2 separate regions of the Homo sapiens genome follow, and region 1 is linked to region 2. Evidence: promoter capture Hi-C in human tissues and cell types (Jung and others, 2019). All regions are on one chromosome and are shown on one strand. The core of a region is centred on a gene start or on the middle of the fragment in contact, and the rest is flanking DNA. Distances in the headings are between cores, read along the strand shown.

Region 1 (6,038 bases), core at 2,826-5,325, 1.8 Mb after region 2:
GCAGGTGGCTGAAGCTCACCTTTGCAGGGGGCAGAGCTTCAAAAAATAAAAGTCTAAAATATGAAGGACGTAAGAGTGAAGACTTGCCTCAGCCTCCCCCAGAGTAGCTGGGATTACAGGCGCCTGCCAACACGCCCAGCTAATTTTTGTATTTTTAGTGGAGATAGGGTTTCACCATGTCGGCCAGATTGGTCTCAAACTCCTGACCTCAAGTGATCCACTGGCCTCAGTCTCCCAAAGTGCTTAGATTACTGGCATGAGCCACCGTGTCCGGCCCTGAATTGTTTTAATTTAAACAAAAGAACTAAAACAAAGACGTATCTATGATAACTGCTTTAACAGGTATCCAGAAAATCCACACAAATAACAATATTACACAGAAAAAAACTTTTATAAGAGGTACTGGTTCTCCAATGCAGTTATTATATGATGTACTGGTTCTCTAATGCAGTGGTTCGTACAGTGTCGTTCCTGAACCAGCAGCATCATTACCACCTGGGAACTTGTTAGGAATTCTAGACATGTATCAGAAACTTTGAGAGCTCAGCCCTTTTGAGAGTTTATGTTGTGATAAATCCTCTAGGTGATTCTGATGCATGCTAAAATGTTAGAATTACTCCTCTAAGGCAAGGTTTCTCAATCATGGCAGTACTGATATTTTGGACTGAATAATTCTTTGTTCAGTACAGGGGATGTCCAGTGCATTGAAAGGTATTTAGCTGTATCCCTGGGCTCTACCCACTAGATGCCAATAGAAACACTCCCCCAACTCCCCAACTCCCCCCACCCTCATGTCCCCAGTAATCACAACAATCAAAAATATCTCCAGACTTTGTACCCTGGAGGGTAAAAGCATCCCCTGGTGAGAGCAACTGCCCTAAAGAAAAGAAAATCAGTATTCATCTATGGTTATTGTTATTGTTTGGTAAATATTCATGCTTCTCTCCCCACTCTCCATGGGAGGGATACGATTCTGCACTCCAGTCAATAACGGGGCTAAATCATGACTTACTTCAGTCAATACACTGTGACACAAGCAGAGGCGGTAAATGTGCTTGCAAAGTCTGGCTTGGTCTTCTGAATGCTCTGCACTCCACTAAGAGAATATGCCTGGACAAATGGAGCAGACTTGAACCTGACTCACAGCCTAAAGCCGAGCCATCACCAAAGCACAAAGTAAATTTGGCTGATCATGCCACTGAGAGACTAGGGTTGTTCGTTAAGCAGCATTAGTGGAGCAAGAGCACTAACACAACACCACTAGAGACATATTTGAGCAGCCCAGCTTAGACTGCCTTTATGAATAAAACAGTCATTTTCCTTTCAAGCATATCTATTAACACAACTACTTTCACATTTGCTAAGGGGCTGTTTTTTTCTTTTTTTTTGAGACAGGGTCTCATTCTGTTGCCCTGGCTGGAGTACAGTGGTACGATCACAGCTCACTGCAGCCTCAACCTCCTTAGGCTCTGCTAGGGGGCTATTTTAACTGAGGCAAATGTCTTAACTATGAAGACCTAAAGATAGATACAAATGGTCTCTGTAGAGAAGTTCATCCATATCATGCACTAGACCTACACTGTGGCTATATACATTTAAACGAAGTAAAATTAAAAATTTAGTTCCTCAGTAACAGTAGTAACATTTCAAATGTTCAATAGTTTCATGTAGCTAGTAGTTACCTCACTGCATGGTGCACTAAGTTCTAATGGACAGCACTGATAGATTTAAGCAAATAGATTATAATATGAAGTATTAGTACAACAATAAAGAGATGAGGCCAGGCGCAATGACTCATGCCTATAATCCCAGCATTTTGGGAGGCTGAGGTGGGCGGATCACTTGAGGTCAAGAGTTTGAGATCAGCCTGGCCAACATGGTGAAACCCTGTCTAAACTAAAAATAAAAAAAATTAGCTGAGTGTGGTGGTGCGCACCTATAATCTTAGCTACCTGGGAGGCTAAGGCAGGAGAATCACTTGAACCCGGGAGGTGGAGGTTGCAGTGAGCTGAGATCGCACCACTGCACTCCAGCTTGGGCAACAGAGCGAGACTCCACCTCAAAGAATAAAAATAAAAGAGAAATGAAGAATTAACTAACTTCCTGAAACACTTGTTTCCTCTTGACTTCTATCCATGATTTCTCACTCTCTTGGTTTTCCTCCTAGTTCACTAGCCACTTCTTAGTATCCTTTGTTGACACCTCTTCCACTATTCTGCCAGATCTCTTCATCTTCAAGTGTCCCAAAGCTTTATTCTTTTCTCTAAATTCTCTCCCTAGATGAGTTAGTCCAGTTCCCTTAGAATATCATTGGCACACTGATGACCTTCAAATTTGTATCTCCAACCCAGAACTTCAAGCAGAGCTCCCAGCCTCTACAGTCAATTGCTTACTAAACATTTCAACTAGAAAAATAGGCATTGCAAAATTAACATATATAAATTAAATTATTTATTTTTTGACCCAAAATCTATTTACTCCCTCCACTCCCTCCTTCTTTCTCAACTCAGGAAACAGTATGAGTTGTTCTGCCAGAAAGGTCACTCTGAAGGTTTCCTCCTGTGAATCGTAATTATTCCACCTCTAAAAATATATCCCAAAGCCATCATTCCTTTCCATATCAACAGTTCTTAATCCTAGTCCAAATCAACATCATCTCTAACATAAATTACTATAACATCATTTCCTCCATTGGTGTTCACCATTATGCCACTATCAACCATTATCCACAGTGGACACAGTCATCTTTTAAAAATTCTGTATCAGATCATCTTCCTCTCCTGCTTAACACCTCCAGTGGTTTCCCTTTGTACTTAAAATCAATACTCTTTTTCAGGGCCTACAAGAGTTCATATAATCTGTCCCACCATGTCTAATTACATTTCCAATCCACTCTACCATTTCTCCTCCTTACTCACTGCTCTCCAGCCCCTATAGCCTTCTTTCTGAACCTCTAAAATGCCAAATCAACTAACTTAGAGCCTTTGAACTAACTTCCTGGTGTCAAGAAAGTTCTTCTCTGAAATCTTTGCACAATGAATTCTTCTTAACATTCATGTCTCTGTGCAAATTTCACTTATAAAAGAGGCCTTCCATAATCCCACAAACTAATGTAGCCTCCCACTTAAAGTTACTTTCTATTATATTGCTGTCTTATTTTCTGCAAAGCAAATATCACTATTCAACTCAGAAATCCTTTAACTCAAAGGCCATAATTGTCAGTTATAGCATGAACTTCAATAAAAATTTAGTGATTTTTATTTTAAGAAAAACAGAATTTACAACATCCCATTAACCTTCTAAGAATTAACTCAATGTCTTCAAAAAAAAACAGGGAACAAATAGCATATAAGCCCTGTAAGATGTTCACAAAATACAGCCATACTGAATCCCTTCTTTGTATCAAATATAGAGTTAAGCACAGCAGATGTACTTATTTTTCCCCTAAATTTGTTTTTCAACATTGGATTAATTTGGTGCTTATGAAATGATTAAATTATTTTAAAAGACCCTATTATACGGTAGCAGTCATAACACAAATTTGTTCTTTTGTTTTTCCAGTCTCTTAGGTAGAGACTAACAATTGTGCTGAATTGTAAGATTGTTTTGTGGTGTGTGTTCAACTAAGCTGAATCTACTAAACACATTCCAACTTTAATCTGAATGAAATATTGAACCATTATTTCAAAGATACAAAAAGATTTTTGCAAAGCCATGTGCCACCTACCATCCTGTAGCAGGCAAGTAAATCTGTATCTCCCAAAGACTGACATTAACATTTTGAAAATTTCTTAAAATTCTCCTTTATATCACTTCCTATCTGATTTATCGCGTCTCCTGATTTCCTTTTTATTTCTAATCTTGCCTCACTTCAATCCATCCTCCACACTTCTCAAATATGAACAAACACTGATTGTTTTACTCTGTTACTTACCTTTTCAACTGCTCATATTATCTATACAGTAAAGTATGAATTGTTTAATAAAGTCTTCTATAATCAGGCTTCTACCTAACTATACAGCTTCACATACGCCATTTCCCTATTTCTAGTCTCATTTACTACATGAAATTAATTGACTAAGCCATGTTTTGTTTAAGTTGTATACCTCTGCACATATTATCATTTCTTGGCATCCAACGAGGATTGGTACCAGGACCTCTGTGGTTAACGAAATCCACTGATGCACAAGTCCCTTATTTAAAATGGCTCCTCTTGTATACTTCAAATCATCTCTAGATTACTTATAATACCTAATATAATGTAAATATGTAAAAAGTTGTACAGTGTTGTTTTTCTATTTGTGTTATTTTTGTTGTTGTATTGTTATTTTTTGTGGGTTTTTTCCAACTATTTTCAACCCTCAGTTAGTTGAATCCATGAAATTAGAACCTACAGATATGGAAGGCTAACTGTCCCATTTCCCTTGCTTTTATGTCCTTAGTGAAATCTTATTCTTGCTTCATCATACAGAATAAGCATCATCTCCATGAAGACTTCCATGATCGTTTCAAGCAAAGTAAATCACTTTCTTCTTTGGGCTAGTTCTACACTGAGCCCATATTTAGTGGAAAGCACTATTGTGTAATGGAGTCTGTCTTGAATTCCAGAATTTCCTGCTTATCATGTGATCTTTGTCAAATTACTTAATCTTTCTGTACTAGTTTCCTCATTTGGAAAATGGTAAAAGAAATAGTACAACTTCATATATAACTTTTGAAAACCTTACTGAGATAACTGGTTATTTTATGCATGTAAAGTTCTTAGAACAGCATCTATCACTTAGTAAGCACTAAATAAAAGTTATTAATTATTACATTATGTAGTAATAGTTTAAAGCTATACTTCCTCCACTAAATTGTGAAGTCCTTGACAGTAAAGATTGTGTCTTTTTTGTCTTTCAATCTCTAACAAGTTTGAGTTACAAATCTCAGCAACTATCTGCTGACTTAAACTGAAAAATATCTGACCCTAGAGAAGCAAAGATCGAGCAATCACTTTCTCATGCAGTTTCCTGTTTATAAAGAGTAGTCATTCTTAATATGTAAAATGCTAATCATATAATGATATTTCACTGATAGACTCAAAGCTCAAAATCACATGAAGTAAGACATATGACATTGCACTACTGAACTTCATGAATTTCATACTCAACACATTTTTAAGTGATCCTGCCACTCCTCTAGTAGCAGTAACTATTGATCTCTTCTGCACCTCCAAGATGTCAGAGCAGTGGGGCATTTTCAGGAAACTGGTGACATGTGTTGCTCTCTTCAAACCAGTGACTGGTGCAATATTGTGATAGTAATGAGGTACGATTCAGTGCTAGTTTACCAAGGAAGGTAAACTTTACCAAAGGAGTTCAACTAGCACTGATTTGTATCTCATTACTGACACAATATGGCACCAGTCTAGTCATACTAATAGATCAAACAGTGAAAGATGTTCAATTTAATCATATTTACAGGAATATTTGATACAATAATGGATATTAAGGAATTCCAAAGAACCCAAAAGAAAGCTGAAAAAGCTTTTAAAAAACGGGGGGAGGGGGAAATCACCGCTACAGTATTCCATAGTGTATATGTACATTTTCTTTATTCAATCTATCACTGATGGGCGTTTGGGTTGATTCCACATCTTTGCTATTATGAATAGTGCTGCAATGAACATACATGTGCATGTATCTTTGTAAAATAATAATTTATATTCTTTTGGGTATATACCCAGTGATGGGATTGCTGAGTCAAATGGTATTTCTGGTTCTACATCTTTGAGGACTCGCCACACTGTCTTCCACAATGGTTGAACTAATTTACATTTCCACCAACACTGTAAACACGTGGAGTACTATCCAGCCATAAAAAGGAATGAGATAATGTCCTTTGCAGGGACTTGGACAAAAGACCACAAAAGACCAGCCACAGATACAAGGCTATCTTGAATAGGAGGGGCCAAAATGCTGAGGCCAGGCACATGCAGCCTACCTAAGACTGCTGCTGCACTAGGAAAACAGAGAACTACCCTGCCTCTCCCTTTC
Region 2 (6,323 bases), core at 952-3,451:
GACTACTCAGTTGATGACCTGAAAAGTGCATCCAGATCTGCAAGAAGTTCCGCCCTTGTGATACTGTTAAGTGCCTGCCAAAAGATGACGGTCTCTAAACCCCAGTGGGAACCAGGCTTTTTCAGATTTTTCTTTTTTGAGACTGAGTCTCAATCTGTAGTTTTGTTGACTCTTTATTTGCTTACTACCCTATGCCACTACCTCCATATATGCAGGGATCTTTGTCTTGTCACCACTCCAGCACCTAATTTCTTATTACAATCATCTAACATTTTCAAACTCAGAGGAGCTTCAGAATATGAATGTTGTGTTAATAAGAAAATGACTGAAGTTATGTCTTTCCAGAAATGCTCATTTATGTCGTCATATTTTTAGCACTTTTATCTGATTATATTATCTGCTGAAATTGGCTTTGGGGCTTTTTCACAAATAAATTGGAGAAGATGTTTATTACAGAATCATGTTAAACTCAGGACCAGTATAATAATTGTGAAACACACAAGGAAGTAGGCAAATAGAACTAGGGTACCCAGTAAATTTCCTTCCTTCCTTCTTTCTCTCTCTCTCTCTTTTTTTTTTTTTTTTTTTTTGACGGAGTTTTGCTCTTGTTGCCCAGGCTGGAGCGCAGTGTCGCGATCTCGGCTCACCGCAATCTCCGCCTCCCGGGTTCAAGCTATTTTCCTGTCTCAGCCTCCCGAGTAGCTGGGATTATAGGCGCGCGCCACTACGCCCGGCTAATTTTTGTATTTTTAGTAGAGATTGGGTTTCTCCATGTTGGTCAGGCTGGTCTTGAACTCCCGACCTCAGTTGATCCGCCCGCCTCGGCCTCCCAAAGTGCTGGGATTACAGGCGTGAGCCACCGCGCCCGGCCAAGTGTCCCTCTTCTAGTCCAGCATCCGAACAGTAGATTTCAAACAAATACAAAGTTAAGTGGAATAGGCAACAAATGGAAGGGGTGTGAGACTTCAAAATGTCTCAGAGATAGGACCCAACCAAATCCTTGGCCTCGCCAAGCGCCCCCATCACTCTGGCAGAACAGCTCCAGAGACCAGCCCTGGCCAGCCCTGGGTCCCCATCTGTCCTCCCCTCCAAGCTGGTAGCTCCCGCGCCCTCTTGGTCTGTCCTTTAATCTCGCGCGGCGGGGACCGGCAGGATGGTGGTCTCCCCGCGGTTTTGCCTTTCAGGCTCTCAAGTAAAGAAAACCCTCGAAACTCCTGATCTCGAGCACAGCACAAGCTCCGAGCTGGCACCGGGCTGAGTCAAGATGGCAAGCCCCGGACTGAACATTCGAATGTCCCTCAGTCTTCCCCGCGCCCAAGCCCCGGTGCCTCTGCCCTAGCCGAGGCCTCTGCGGTCTTCCCGGGCGAGGAGCCGATTGGGGGCCGCCGGACGGCGGAGGACCCTGCTCCTGCTTCCCGAACTACAGATCCCAGGGTGCCTCTCGGACTCGCGCTCCCTCCCTCCCTTGCTCCCTCCCTTCGTCCGTCTCCTCCCCCGGCCCTTGTTGTTTTGGCTGGAAGCACTCCGGCGGAGTTTCAGAGAAAGTCTGGGCAGAAACCGGAGCCGGGCCTGAACGTGGGAAGGGGAGGAGGAGAGGGAGGAAGAAGGAGCCCGGCGGCCGGGAGAGGGAGGGAGGGATCGGGATCTGGGGCCGAGCCGCTCAGGACCTGCCGCGAGCCCCGGGGTGGGGGAGGCGGCGGGGGAGGAGCGCGAGGGGACGGGACAGCGGGATCCCTCCCAGGAGCCAAGCCGCCAAGCGCCTCGTTCCTCTGCTGCTCCCCGCCCTCTTCGGCGGCCGCGAGAGCGGACCCACCCTCCGGCTTGACCTGCGACCTCCCTGCGCCCGCCGCTCAGAAACGCCCCGCGCTTCGCTGCCAACCCTGCGGCTCCCTCTGTGACCCGGGACCAGCCCCGCGCCCGCTGCCCGTAGGCGGCTCGCGGCTTCCCCTTTCCTCGGCGTTCACCGAGCGCCGCGAAGTGACCCACCCTCCCCCGAGGAGAGGGAAGGAGGATCGCTCCGGGCGCATCGAAACCGAGGGCGGGTGGGCGGGCGAGCGGGCACCGCGCGGGGCATTGTGTGTGTGTGTGTGTGTGTGTGTGTGTGTGAGCAGCGCTGTGTCTGTTTCGGAAAGCGCTCTGGGGAGGTCTTGTCCCTAGGGGGCGGAGCGCAAAGGACAGAAGCTCCGGCACCGAGTCGGGGCAGAGTCCCGCTGAGTCCGAGCGCTGCTGAGGCAGCTGGCGAGACGGCACGTCTGGAGGCGAGGCGGGCGCACTGAAAGGAGGCCGGCGCGCCCGCGGCCCCGGCTCGCGTTCTGTTCAGGTTCGTGGGCCTGCAGAGGAGAGACTCGAACTCGTGGAACCCGCGCACCGTGGAGTCTGTCCGCCCAGTCCGTCCGGGGTGCGCGACCAGGAGAGCTAGGTTCTCGCCACTGCGCGCTCGGCAGGCGTCGGCTGTGTCGGGAGCGCGCCCGCCGCCCCTCAGCTGCCCGGCCCGGAGCCCGAGACGCGCGCACCATGAGCGGTGGTGAAGTGGTCTGCTCCGGATGGCTCCGCAAGTCCCCCCCGGAGAAAAAGTTGAAGCGTTATGTAAGTAGAGCTGCGGGCACCACTCCGCGGGCCTCGGCGTCCACACCCCTCCCCAGTCGGCTCGCCGGCGGCTGCAGCTGGCCGCGCGCGGGGCTGGTTCTTAAACGAATGCCGGTCTCTTTCCCCTTGGCCCCTACCCCTGGCGGGCTCGGGACAGGGTGCCTTGCACTCCCTCACGCCCAGGCATCCACTTGGCCGGACAACTTTCTTCCTCCAGGTTCCAGACAGCCTGCTTTGCGGGCCTGTTCGCCCCATAAAAGGACCTAGACGTCCAGCTAAACTCCTGCTGCATGCTTTTTTTCTTCCTTAGGAAGGATGGGGTGCGATGGAGAGAGGAGCCTTCTTCCTGCTTTATTCCTGCATCTGATTATTGGGCTGATGTGTGCTAAAGCTCCCGCACCGGGAAAACTGCCGAGGTTTTAGGGCTCACTAGCCCTTTCTTTGGTGGGCGCTCCCTCTCCTCCGCCCCTCGAGATGGGTTGCGGGAAGCGGGCTGTGGAGCTGAGGAGTTGGTAGTAGAGACAAGCATATCGAACGCGCGCAAAAGGGAAAGAAAGAAAAGTTATTACGCGCCCTGCCGTTTGCTTAGCAGGGTTCACATTTTCGCGGTTTTGAATTGAGGGACTTTGGAGTTTGGCCCGGGAGCCTTGGCGGTTTGCTGCGAGAGGAGGGCGCTGGGGGGGAGCCTAGTGGCTGGTGTTTGGGCGCCTTGGATGTGCTGTCAAACTCGGCAGGAGGGGACAGCTGAAGCCAGAAGGGATTTCAGTTGCGGTCCTTTCCCAGGGAACCAGAGTGGCTTTAATGGTGTTTGTGTAATTGATACAAGATGCTATGTGTTAAACCGTTTTAGCTGTTAGGAAAAATATTCCTTGAAAGTATCAACCTTGCTTTAGTGGAAACCTGTGTCCTCTTCAGAGGTCTGGGATCTTATTCTTCCTCCCCATTGGTTGTTTTGTTGCTGCTCCCTTGCAAAGGAAAGAAATGACACTTTTGTGCTGACATCTGGATCAAATATTTTTCTAGTAAAATGTGTTTGCAAAAGCAAAATTTATGCCCCCTTAAATATAATATAAATTTAATGCCTGTACGAAGGGAACCCGTTTGTCGTTGAGGAATATCTACACCCAGTATTAGAGCTCAGGTTAATCCTGTTAGTCACTGTTTGCTTGTATAGAACAGAGTGAAGTACACAGAGTGAAGTATTTAACTTCACTGACAACTCACCAGTGAATTTCTGATTTACTTTCTGCCAGAATTTATTATAGACAAGTAATTTTATTGAAAGACTCGATGCCACAAATCATAAGAAAGCTCTCCAGAGATGTGTAATGCCTCCAAATCCTGTCCATCTATCAGTTTTCCTGAATATCCTAGTAAAAATGCTAACTTTATTCCAAAAATATGAACGAGGCAGTGTTTTTTTTTCCAGCTGTTCTAAAGAGAAAGGTAGGGGTGTGTGTGTGTGTGTGTATGTGACAGAGAAGGAAGGGAGAAAGGGGTAGGGAGATAAATATATTTGTTTTGAGAAGGCCCAATTTAGGAAAAACAGATTCTTGGAGGAATTAAAGAATAACATATTTGCTGAACGTGAAAGTGATAATATAGGTTTAATTCATTCTTTCACATGGTTAGTTCATGGCTCACTCAAAAGACGCCAGGCACTGTATTAGACACCAACCATAAGGTCACAAAATACAGTAGGAAAAAGGAAAAAAGCCCTGCCTCTTGGGCTTAGAATTCAATTGAACTATTAACCAGGAAAGAAATCAGCCAAAAAGATTATGTCTTAACAAGAAAAACAAAAAGGAAAGTATAATTTGATCATTACAACTGTTTTCTGAGGTAGGTGTCATCTCTATTTTACAGAAAACAGTCCTGCATTTGAACCCAGATCTGCCTGATTGATTGGACTGTAAAAGGTTAACGACTCTCACCTAGTTCATTTCAAATGTGGAGCTTAGACTAGGTTATCTCTAAAGGTCCTTCAGGCTCACACCTGTAATCCCAGCACTTTGGGAGGCCGAGGCCAGTGGATCACCTGAGGTCAGGAGACCAGCCTGGCCAACATGGCGAAACTCTGTCTCTACTAAAAATACAAAAAATAGCCGGGCGTGGTGGTGTACGCCTGTAATCCCAGCTGCTGGGGAGGCTGAGGCAGGAGAAATGCTTGAACCTGGGAGGTGGAGGTTGCAGTGAGCAGAGTTTGTGCCATTGCACTGCAGCCTGGATGACAGGGTGAGACTCCGTCTCAAAAATAGCAACAACAAAATAAAGGTCCTTTCAGATTATAACTTTTCCTGACTCTGAATATTAGTTGAGAATACAAGAATGAGGTGGACTATGGATCAGGTGCACAGTGCTAAAGAAATGTAAGACCTAGTCTTTGCCTTTAAGTAGCTCTTTGAGTCTTTGGGACCACGAGACAAGTATATGTGAAAAAGCCAACAGTGCAAAGTGGTATATGACTGTGTGTCTAAGTTGAGTGGTATGGGTATTTTTTGGCTGTTCTGAGGAACAAGTTCAATGTAGACTGAAACTATGGGAACATTTGAGAGAGACAGTGGGCTGCCTACATTGTGTTTTCCACAGGAGGATGAATGTGCCTAATAGCTTGGGAGAAACTAGGATTTTCTTTGCCTGGTGTAGCACTGGTGTTTTCTTTACCCACGAATAAAGTAGATGGAGATAGTCCTGGAAGACAGTAGACAGGGCGGCTGTCAGAATAGAGGAAACCAGCATGGAGTGTAATGAGTTAAATAAGGCTTATTTAACTGTCAGGTTAAATAAGGCTTGTATTTTACCTGTCAGGTTGGTGGCCCAGAAGATTTTGACATTCCCAGATTATTGATCTTTTGGCTTTGCTGTCCAGTTTAGATGGTTTTTGCTAAAGTAGCTTTGACCATCAAAGATATAGACATGTATACGTGCATTTCCTATGCTTGTTTTTTTTATGTAGAATGTTTATTTTTCTGGATAAAGGAAACATTGTTGGCCACCCAGTAGGCAAAATGTTTGTGGATAATGATTTGTAATGAATGGATTTGCTATGAAAAGATATCTTGGATGCTTGATACTATAATTATTAAATGAGACTTCAGGGAGTTTGAGCATCATGATTCTGTTTGGAAATATTTGGCCCATGGGACTTTGACAGTTGTCTCACTGTTTACAGCATTTATAGGGTAGTCCGAACACTGATTAAGATGATCCATAAGGGCTTTTAAGTGACAAAAAAATTGTTTTAGTTTTTTTTAATTAATTTTTTTTTGAGATGGAGTCTTGCTCTGTCACCCAGACTGGAGTGCAGTGGCACTATCTCGGCTCACTGCAACCTCTGCCTCCCAGATACAAGCAGTTCTTCTGCCTCAGCCTCCCCAGTAGCTGGGATTATAGGCATCCCCCTCCACACCCAGCTAATTTTTGTATTTTCAGTAGAGATGGGATTTCGCCAGGCTGGTCTCAAACTCCTGACCTCAGGTGATCCACCCACCTCAGCCTCCCAAAGTCCTGGGATTACAGGCATGAGCCACCACGCCTGGCCTTAAATTGTTTTAGTTTTAGCTTTAAAGCCATCTCATATATGGCCCCCAATGTATTCCATTTACAGCTCCGTTTTATGTTTACTGTTTCATAGTCAACTCAAGCAGGATTGTTTTTTGTACACGCTAGTGTGTTAGTCTGATGTGTAAGCTTTTCTTGAATTTTCTAAAGAATGACACACAAAAAAATGAAAGTCA

What was found. The method cuts DNA at HindIII sites, captures the fragments that hold promoters and counts their contacts. A contact is called where the count stands out against the background at its distance.
Region 1: a fragment that was not itself captured here is called in contact with the fragment with the promoter of GAB1 in region 2 in 1 of the 25 tissues and cell types used here (hippocampus).

Annotation. Positions count from the first base shown.
Region 1 is chr4:145,085,987-145,092,024 of GRCh38, forward strand. All of the region lies in intron 2 of ANAPC10 (anaphase promoting complex subunit 10), which reads right to left. Among named protein-coding and RNA genes, the nearest start is that of ANAPC10, 9.2 kb to the right of the region's middle. The HindIII fragment of the contact is 6,056 bases long and covers 1,048-6,038 here.
Region 2 is chr4:143,334,675-143,340,997 of GRCh38, forward strand. It overlaps GAB1 (GRB2 associated binding protein 1), which reads left to right and starts at 2,202. Exons shown (of 10, transcript NM_002039.4): 1 at 2,202-2,586. The coding sequence starts at 2,515. It also overlaps the pseudogene LOC124900789. RefSeq lists enhancers at 1,009-1,218, 2,128-2,941 and silencers at 1,411-1,578, 1,519-1,818, 1,919-1,978, 2,049-2,098. The HindIII fragment of the contact is 14,684 bases long and covers 1-6,323 here.